Linked DNA regions of Homo sapiens: region 2 is linked to region 1. The links are contacts of gene promoters, found by promoter capture Hi-C in human tissues and cell types (Jung and others, 2019). All regions are on one chromosome and are shown on one strand. The core of a region is centred on a gene start or on the middle of the fragment in contact, and the rest is flanking DNA. Distances in the headings are between cores, read along the strand shown.

Region 1 (4,040 bases), core at 647-3,146:
TGATGCTCCTTCCAAACCACTGTCCTGTCCCCACCTCTTCCACTCCCACCCTTGGCCAAAGCACAGATCATAAGCCCTCTGCTCCGCTCCCCTCTGAGATTCGCCTTCCATGAGGAATTCAGGGCTTTCCCCATATCTTCTCTTCCCCACCTTTATCAAGAGATGCTGCTCCCTCCCCGTCAAGTCTCTTTTTGCACTGTCACCACCCAACACTTTCCACGACACTTCTTTGCTTTGACCAGAAGCCATAAGGTAAGGTTGGAAGAACATTTATTCACTCTCCACCAGCCTAGGAAATTAATAGTGGGTCCTCAGCCCTGCCACCTTCTGCTGTTATCATCAGCCTTTTAACTCAGGTTTTGATATGGTGAAAAGAGTCACCAGGGTTATTCAGACACCCCGGCTGTCAGGGTCCTTGGTGGTTAAACCTGGGAAAAGGCCACATGAAGACAACTGTAAGCACACATGATCCCTCTGAATTGTTTTCTTTTCCTGCAATTGTGCTTGCTCTTAAAAATTGAAGTTTTAAACAGGGCTCACATGTGATCATCCTTCCATCTATTGGAGTCTAGCTTGAAATGTGACAACCGGAACCAAAAGAACCTTGAATTTGGTGCCTACTTTGGTTTTGGTGCTGCTGCTTCTCAAGATCCTCAGCAGGGATTAAGAAGTTGGGGTGCACAGCAGGAATATCAGGAAATTGGCAGGCTTGACTTCCTGGCAAATTGCTAGCAGGACCACTAAATGCTGAACTGTACTGTGAATGTATACCGAAATACAAGCAATTATTTCTGTACTAAAGGTGTTTTTAATTTTGTATTTGTGTAAAACCACCTTTGGAAGCAGCAACTATCTAGTCAGAAAAGCAAATGATGTTTCCATTAATCTTTTCTGGGGAAAACATTAGTGCTAAGGATTTAACAATCTGTAGGTAAAGTTTAACCTAACAGTATTCCACAAGGAGACTTTTTATTATCAGACGGTTGCCTAATTTTCATATAATTTTTATATTAATATAATCCTTGGTTCCTCCCCATCCCCTTCATAGGCCACAGCTGAGGTGAAAAGGGTCCTGGAATGGCTAGTGAGAGCTAGAAATTCAGACGGGAAAATTGAAACTCAGAGCAGAAAGGCAAGCTGCCCAAAAATAACAACGCTAGTTAATGGCACAATTGCTACCAGACCCAAGTATCCAGACTTCCTGGAGCTGTGAGATCTTTCATCACCACCACTCTCCAGGTACCGGGCAGTGCCTGTTTCTGGATTCAAACTCACAGCAGCGAGGAAATCCTATTTTAGCAAAGTGATCTACTGTTACTGTTGTTAGTGCACCCCTCTCCTGCGTCTCTGCTTCACATCCACTCCCTCGCCGCCCGCCCCCAAACACTTGGATTCTTCCTAGCCTCTCACAGGTCAGCCACCACCAGAGGACCGTGAGCCTCCGGCAAGTGATCAAATACTGAGCCCGAATTTCGGCAGCCGTACCAACGCAATCCTGGGAGCCCATTCCACCCACTCCGCAGCCCCTCTCCCACCTCACCTCTTCCCTTGTCAGAAAAGCGGACGCCGCCTTCCCAGACTCTCCTCATGAAAACAGCACCCATCTAAATAGTGATCATGAAAAATGCCCCTTCCAGTCCACAGAGAAAAAGCTTTCTCCTTTTCTAAGAGTCCATGGGCGCCGCCATGTTGCTGTACGGAAAAACGTTTCCAGGGCGAGTTGAGCGTTCAGGGCACTCCTCGGCGCTCAAGCTGCCCACAGGTCTTCCGACCTAACTTTAGGGGTCGTGCCAGTCTTCGTAGAGACGGCCACACTGGCCCACAGACCCCAGTTCCTGGGGTGACGCAGCTGGGCGCGACCAGCACGCAGCCTTCCAGCGACGAGGCGGTCGCATGGAAGTTACTGCGCGCGTCGTGCGTAATGACGTCAGCGCCGGCGGAGAATTTCAAATTCGAACGGCTTTGGCGGGCCGAGGAAGGACCTGGTGTTTTGATGACCGCTGTCCTGTCTAGCAGATACTTGCACGGTTTACAGAAATTCGGTCCCTGGGTCGTGTCAGGAAACTGGAAAAAAGGTGACTGAATGACATCGGATTAACTTTGTTTCTGCAGAGCTGTTCTGGAGGAAGAAAGTGATGGCGCCAATGACTTAAATTTAGAGGTCCTGAGGCGATGTTTTGGTGTTTGTTTGCTGTTGGGAGAAGCCTCGAGGCCAAAACTGTGCGAGGCGCTGGTTTCACGGGATCTATTAAATTTCTAGTGGCAACGATTTCCCAAGGAGGAAAGGGGAGGGCCTGGGGGACACTGATGAGGAGTGGAGGCTCGGGAGAGGAAACGGGGAAGAATTGAAGGGGGCGGAAAGAGATGGACAAGAGAGGACTCGTTGGGTGGGTTGCGTCTGAATACTAGTGTAGCTTCTTATGGCCGTGTAGGACTGCGTGTAGAAGTCTTCATCTTAAATCATGAGAGCTACATTCTAAGTGGAGATTAAACGTGGACACACAGGTGTGAGTGGAAAAGTTGAATAGATGAACAAGCGCATATTGAAGAGGAAATAGGCGGCCAAAATCAAGAAGAGTCTAATCAGTGTAAAAGACTAAGGAGTACCCAGAGAAGTAAAAGGATTGTCACCTTCCTGAAAGCCAGGGCAGGACCTGAGAAGGCTGGGTGCAGAGATGAGACAGGATCAAAAGTTTTGTCAATCATGTGTATCCTAGGAGACAAATTTTTTAGCAGATGTGAAGGGAGTGACCTGTTAATGTGGTTTGTAAATGGAGGCAGCCTATAGACCATTTTATGGACCGGATGATTTATCCTTGTTGAAGGGGAGATTGATGCCAAAAGGGCAGTAATTGAGGAAACAATGGGTTAAGGACAGAGCAGGAGAGATTGACATTAGGAAAACAGAATAATTCCATTCTCTGAAACCAAAGAAAAGGAAACATTTTGAGGTGAATAAGAGAATTTGAGGTAATTTTTTTGTCTTCCTATTGAAATAGGCACAGCCAACAGCAGTAATGTGGTCTGGGTAACAGACAGGGCTTTAGCTACCACGGATACCCTTGTGAAGGCAAAAACCGTAACTTACTCGTCTTTGCATCTCCTGCATTGCCTAGCACACTCCCCTATATATATAGTGGGCAGTTAATAAATGTTTATGTTGAATATTTTTAAATGGAATTAAATAGATGTTCCTTGCAAATGAGAACTTCAGTGTACATGAACAAAAAAGAGATACCCCAGGGGAAAGATGATGATCTTGAAGAAACAATGAAACCTGACTGTCTTTCTGTTTAAGGATAAATAGTTGCTTAATGTACCATCTCTGTCTGGAAAGTTTTTTTTAAATACTGAATTCGTGAATGTAGGTCATAAGCATGAAGCGCAGTTCAGTTTCCAGCGGTGGTGCTGGCCGCCTCTCCATGCAGGAGTTAAGATCCCAGGATGTAAATAAACAAGGCCTCTATACCCCTCAAACGTGAGTATTTCCCTTGTGGTTCTAATTTGCATGCTTTATCATCTTAGGCAAAGAAATCATAAGAAATAGTTAATATAAAGATGTAATATGAGTGATGTCTTGGTGAATCTTGTCTGTTCCCAGGGGTACCTAATTTTGGATCAATGAAATCTAAAAGTGGGCATGATACTCTGCTAGGTGTTGTTTGTGTCATTTGTTTCACAAATTTCCAAAGCCAAATGCTTTACCAGGCACCCCCTAAAAGGACTGTTAATTCTTGTTCAGTACTCTCTTATTTTTCTCTTTTATTCTAGAGCTACTTGTTTAAGCAGGCTCTGTGCTGTAACTTAGAGTTCACTGAGATATTTCCAATTAGCAAAGCTTCAATCAAATCAGAGCAAAATTATTTGCTCTCATAAGGTATAATATAGTAGCAGCCTACAAAACACCACTCCTCCGAACTCTTTCCTCAAGATTTGCTGGAAAAATATCTGAAAGAACCTGCTGTCATAAACTATAGTTTTTCATTATGAGTGATTATCTTCCAGATAAGAGAAGGCTATTTGTAAGCCATTGTAGAGCT
Region 2 (4,496 bases), core at 3-2,502, 220 kb before region 1:
CTCACAGGACTTTACAGATTGTGTTGACAAGGAATTGGAATTGGGACATAGATAAGGTCTGCTGATCGCAGGAAAATGGGCTTTTAACATTCCTTTTAGTTTCAGGGAAGGGGCAAGGGAGAGAGGGAGCGAGGACACAGGGAAGCTTACAGCAAAAGTTTCGCTGTTTATAGCTTTCTTGGGGGAAGAAAACACATGCCCAAGTTTTGATGTTAGGAATATTATTTTAAGCACATATCTTTAATATTATTCATCCAGGACCAAAGTAAGTCCTGATGCAGGAAAGGAGTGAGTTTCACAGCTTTCTGAGCCCCTAATCAACCCAGGAAGCCCAGCTGGAACCTCCTCTCACTGTTAGGCTAGATTTTAATTACATCTAAGTGACAGTAACTTTCCTTATTCCTATTTGACCTGGTATTTTCTGGTTTCAATTTCTCTCGTTGAAAGGAACAACATTCCTAAGGCAAAATTCACAAGGCAGATATCTAATAATTTGTTTGGGTGCTGTTGAAAGAAATTAACGAAATGATCCATCGCTCCCTCAGAACTCCCACATGTGTGCACGTACACACATCCCCACACATTGGCTTTCTTCCAGTTCTTTAAATCTCAGGTTCTGAAAGAGATGCCAAATGGCTGGTACATTAATCCTGGCTTTTAAGCACCTACACACCAGGAAATGAATGTTCACAATAAAAGGCACAGTAAGGTGAGCGTCAATTCAGAACAGCAGAAGTGGAAATGTATATTCATTTGTAAATATTAGGATTTCATGGCTACATTGGCACTTGAGATCATTTCAAAGAATATCAATAATTAGAGACTGGTGGAGAATATTCCAGACACAGAGGAAAACATGCTAAGATGATGAGGAAAGACAAATTGATATGTTCGGAAAAGTGTAGGGAAGAGGGAGATGAAAAGAAATTTATAAATGGATACAAATATGTGATTTGATAGAAGAAATAAGACATAGAGTTAAAGAGATCAGTAGGGTTATTCTAGTTCACAGTCATCTATTGTATATTTCGTAATAAGTAGAAGATAATTCAAATAGTCCTAGCATAAAGAAAGGACAAATGTTTAAGGTGATGGACATCCCAAGCACACTGATTGGATCTTTACAAATTATATGAATGTATTAAATTCTCACATGGATCCCAAAATTATGTACATCTATTATGCATCAAAAAAAAATAAATTTAAAAGAAGAAAACTGTAGGGAACCCACTCTGGCTGAGGCATATAGCATGGGGAGGGACGGAGTTGAATTGTCAGAGCCATTAGGTCAAACTAGAAATTGTCAGTGAGGTATTGGTGTTTAATCCTGGCAACCACAGGAAATGATTGCCTAGTATTTAAGCAAACTGGTGATGTGAACCATGCTTCAGAATTTAGTTTTTATTCTAAAAATAGAAAAAAAAAACTCTCTAAACCTTCCGGCCACTATTTTATTTCCCCAATGAAAATGGCAGGAGTCATCTCAGGGTTTACATGGAAAAATCACTTTTAAAAATACATTTGCATATATTTTCCCATTTAGTCGTCATGGAAACTCTGAAGCAGGTACTGTCCTGGCTCTCCCTTTTACTAGATGTATGACCTTGGGCATGATACCTAAGTCAGCATTCATCTCTAGCATGGTAATAACAGTAGTACCTACTGCCTGTGTTTAATGTATAAAAGACACAATGGATGTAAAAGCACTTGGCACCATACCTACTGCATAATAAGCTTTCAATAAATATTAGATTTATAATTATCATTATTATTATTACTTTATAACAAGGAAAATGAGACAGAAAGTTAAGTGGTTTGCCCAAAGTTGCTGGGCTAGGAAGTGGCCGAGTTAAACTTGACTGCAAGCTACTGGCATGATGTTTCAAAACTGCAAATCGTATCATGCTCCCTGTGAAAGTGTAAGTAAATTATAGGTCCAATAATGGAGAACTGACTAGGTAAATTGTGCACCTCTATCATGTGGAATTCTACAAACCAATTATGGTGATGTTCAAGAATTATTTTTTCCAACATAGAAAGAGTCAAATATATTATTACATTTTTTAAAAGTTAATGTACACTAAGAGTTTTTATTAAAGATAAATAATAGAAATATCCTTTCAGGGTAGAAAATATTCTAAAAGGATGTATGCGCCGAGGCTCTCGGTAACTGAAAAAGAGTGAGAATGGATTTTTCTTATTCCTATGCTCACTCATCTGTGAGCGTAGTAATATGTGCCATGTTTGACATATCCATGTTGAACACAATTTGTCTTAAAATACATCTTTTAAACTTCCACCTTTCTCCCCTCAACCCTAAAACACACTTCCTCTTCATAGCACACCTGTCTTGGTGCCAAACACACAAAGCATTCTTTTCTAAGATGATATATCCTACCTAAGATCCTATGAGGAATAGTCCTTGGCAGAACACATGACTCGCCCATTATTTAATCGTGTTACTGTCTGTTTGTTGCAAAGGGCTAATCTTAATCATAGAAAAGTTTAATGTTCTATAGATCTTTACTGTGGGCCATGTAGAATGGTAAGAAAAAAATTTAATTTCCCACTTTCCCTTATTCTCTGTCATAACCATGGATCTAAAATTCATCCCAAATCTCAAAGACCTTGAGTTTAGTCTAATATCTTTTTTGAAATGTATGTATGTACAACATACATAACTTAAAATTTACTATCTTAACCATTTTAACTGTAAATTTCAGTGACATTCACATTGTACGACCATCATCACCATTCATCCACAGAACTCTTTTCATCTTGCAAAACTGAAACTCTGTACCAGTTAAACAATAACTCCTACCCCCTCCTCCAAGCCCCTGGCCACCACCATTCTACTTTCTGTCTCTAGGGATTTGATTACTCTAGATACTTCATATACGTGGAATCATTGCTGTGTTTGCCCTTTTGTGAATGGCTTATTTCACTTAGCATGATGGCCTCAAAGTTCGTCCGCGTTGTATGCAGCTAGAAGCCATTATCCTCAGTGAACTAACTCAGAAAAATAAATACCATGTGTTCTCATTTATAAGTAGGAGCTAAATATTGGGTACACATGGACATAAAGATAGGAACAATAAGCACTGGGGAGTACAAGAAGAGGGAGGGAGAAAGTGGGGCAAGAGTTGAAAGCCTATCTATTTGGTATTGTGCCCCCTACCTGAGTGACAGACTCATTTGTACTGCAAACCTTGGCATCACGCAATATACCTTTGTAAAAAACCTTCTTATGGACCCCCTGATTCTAAAATAAAAGTTTTTAAAAATTGATTACATTAAATTAAATTTAAATTAAAAGGACATACCATTTGACCAACATCAACAAAAAAATTTCATCCATGATGTAGCAAGTGTCAGAATTTCTTTCCTTTTTAAAGACTGAACAGTAGTCCGTTGCATGAATTTGCCACATTCTGTTTATCCTTTCATTTATTAATGATGACTTCAGTTGCTTTCATGTTTTGGCTATTGTTAATAATGCCACTATGAACATGGGTACACCAAAATCTCTTCAAGTTCCTATTTTCTATCCTTTTGGATACAATCCAGAAATGGAATTGCTGGATAACACTATTTGTTGAAAGACTGTCTTTCCCCCCACTGAATGGTCTTAACAACCTTGTTGAAAAATCATTTACTGTATATGTGAGGGTTTGTTTTTGGGCCCTCCATTTTATTCCATTGGTTTATATGTCTGTCTTTATGGCAGTACCAAACTAATTTGATTACTGTAGCTTTGTAGTAAGTTTTGAAATCAGGAAGTGTGAGACCTCCAATTTTGTTCTTCTTTTTCAAGATTGTTTTGGCTACTTGGGGTCCTTTGAGATTCCATTATGACCTTTAGGATGGATTTTTCTATTTCTTCAAAATTATCAATGGGATTTTAATAGAGACTGCATTGAATCTGTAGTTCACCTTGAATCTGTAGTTCATCACTATCTTAATAATAAATCTTCCAATTTGTGAACACTGGATGTCTTTCCTTTTATTGTCTTCTTTAACTTCTCTAACGATTTTTCTTTATTTTTCCAGCTCAGTGGCCTATAATGCCCTTTCCTAGACTTTGCCTTTTTCCTCTGTAGTGGTTTGAGGCCCTATTGACTTAATTTGACTGTGTTTGATATGCAAAAATAGGCAATTTGAACTCTTTGATACGTAATGTAAGGAGTGATGATACGTTATGGCAGAGGTCCTGGGTGTTCTGAATAGTTGGTGACATCGTTAATTTAGCTGTCTAAATTGGTGAAATAATCATTATATAATGATGAATGAAAAAATATACTACATAAGACCCCTGAAAAAGCAAATATCAGAGTTCTCCCACCCTATGTCTTTTGCCAATGGCTATAACTGTCCACTGTGAAATGTGAGTGGTCATGGAGTTGGCAGTGGGGATCATTGGAAGAACATGAGATAAGATATCATGGACATAGGTAGGGTAATGTAAAAATTTTTATAAGTTTCCTTACTTGAGCTTA

What was found. The method cuts DNA at HindIII sites, captures the fragments that hold promoters and counts their contacts. A contact is called where the count stands out against the background at its distance.
Region 2: a contact is called between a fragment that was not itself captured here and the fragment with the promoter of METTL4 in region 1, in 3 of the 25 tissues and cell types used here (H1 embryonic stem cells, hippocampus and mesendoderm cells).

What each region holds. Positions count from the first base shown.
Region 1 is chr18:2,569,609-2,573,648 of GRCh38, forward strand. It overlaps METTL4 (methyltransferase 4, N6-adenosine), which reads right to left and starts at 1,897. Exons shown (of 9, transcript NM_022840.5): 1 at 1,541-1,897. It overlaps NDC80 (NDC80 kinetochore complex component), which reads left to right and starts at 1,949. Exons shown (of 17, transcript NM_006101.3): 1 at 1,949-2,075; 2 at 3,369-3,478. The coding sequence starts at 3,378. RefSeq lists enhancers at 990-1,912, 1,795-1,954. The HindIII fragment of the contact is 12,565 bases long and covers 1-4,040 here.
Region 2 is chr18:2,351,656-2,356,151 of GRCh38, forward strand. The region is part of intron 2 of LOC105371961 (a long non-coding RNA gene); the gene reads left to right. Among named protein-coding and RNA genes, the nearest start is that of METTL4, 220 kb to the right of the region's middle. RefSeq lists an enhancer at 1-129. The HindIII fragment of the contact is 6,362 bases long and covers 1-4,433 here.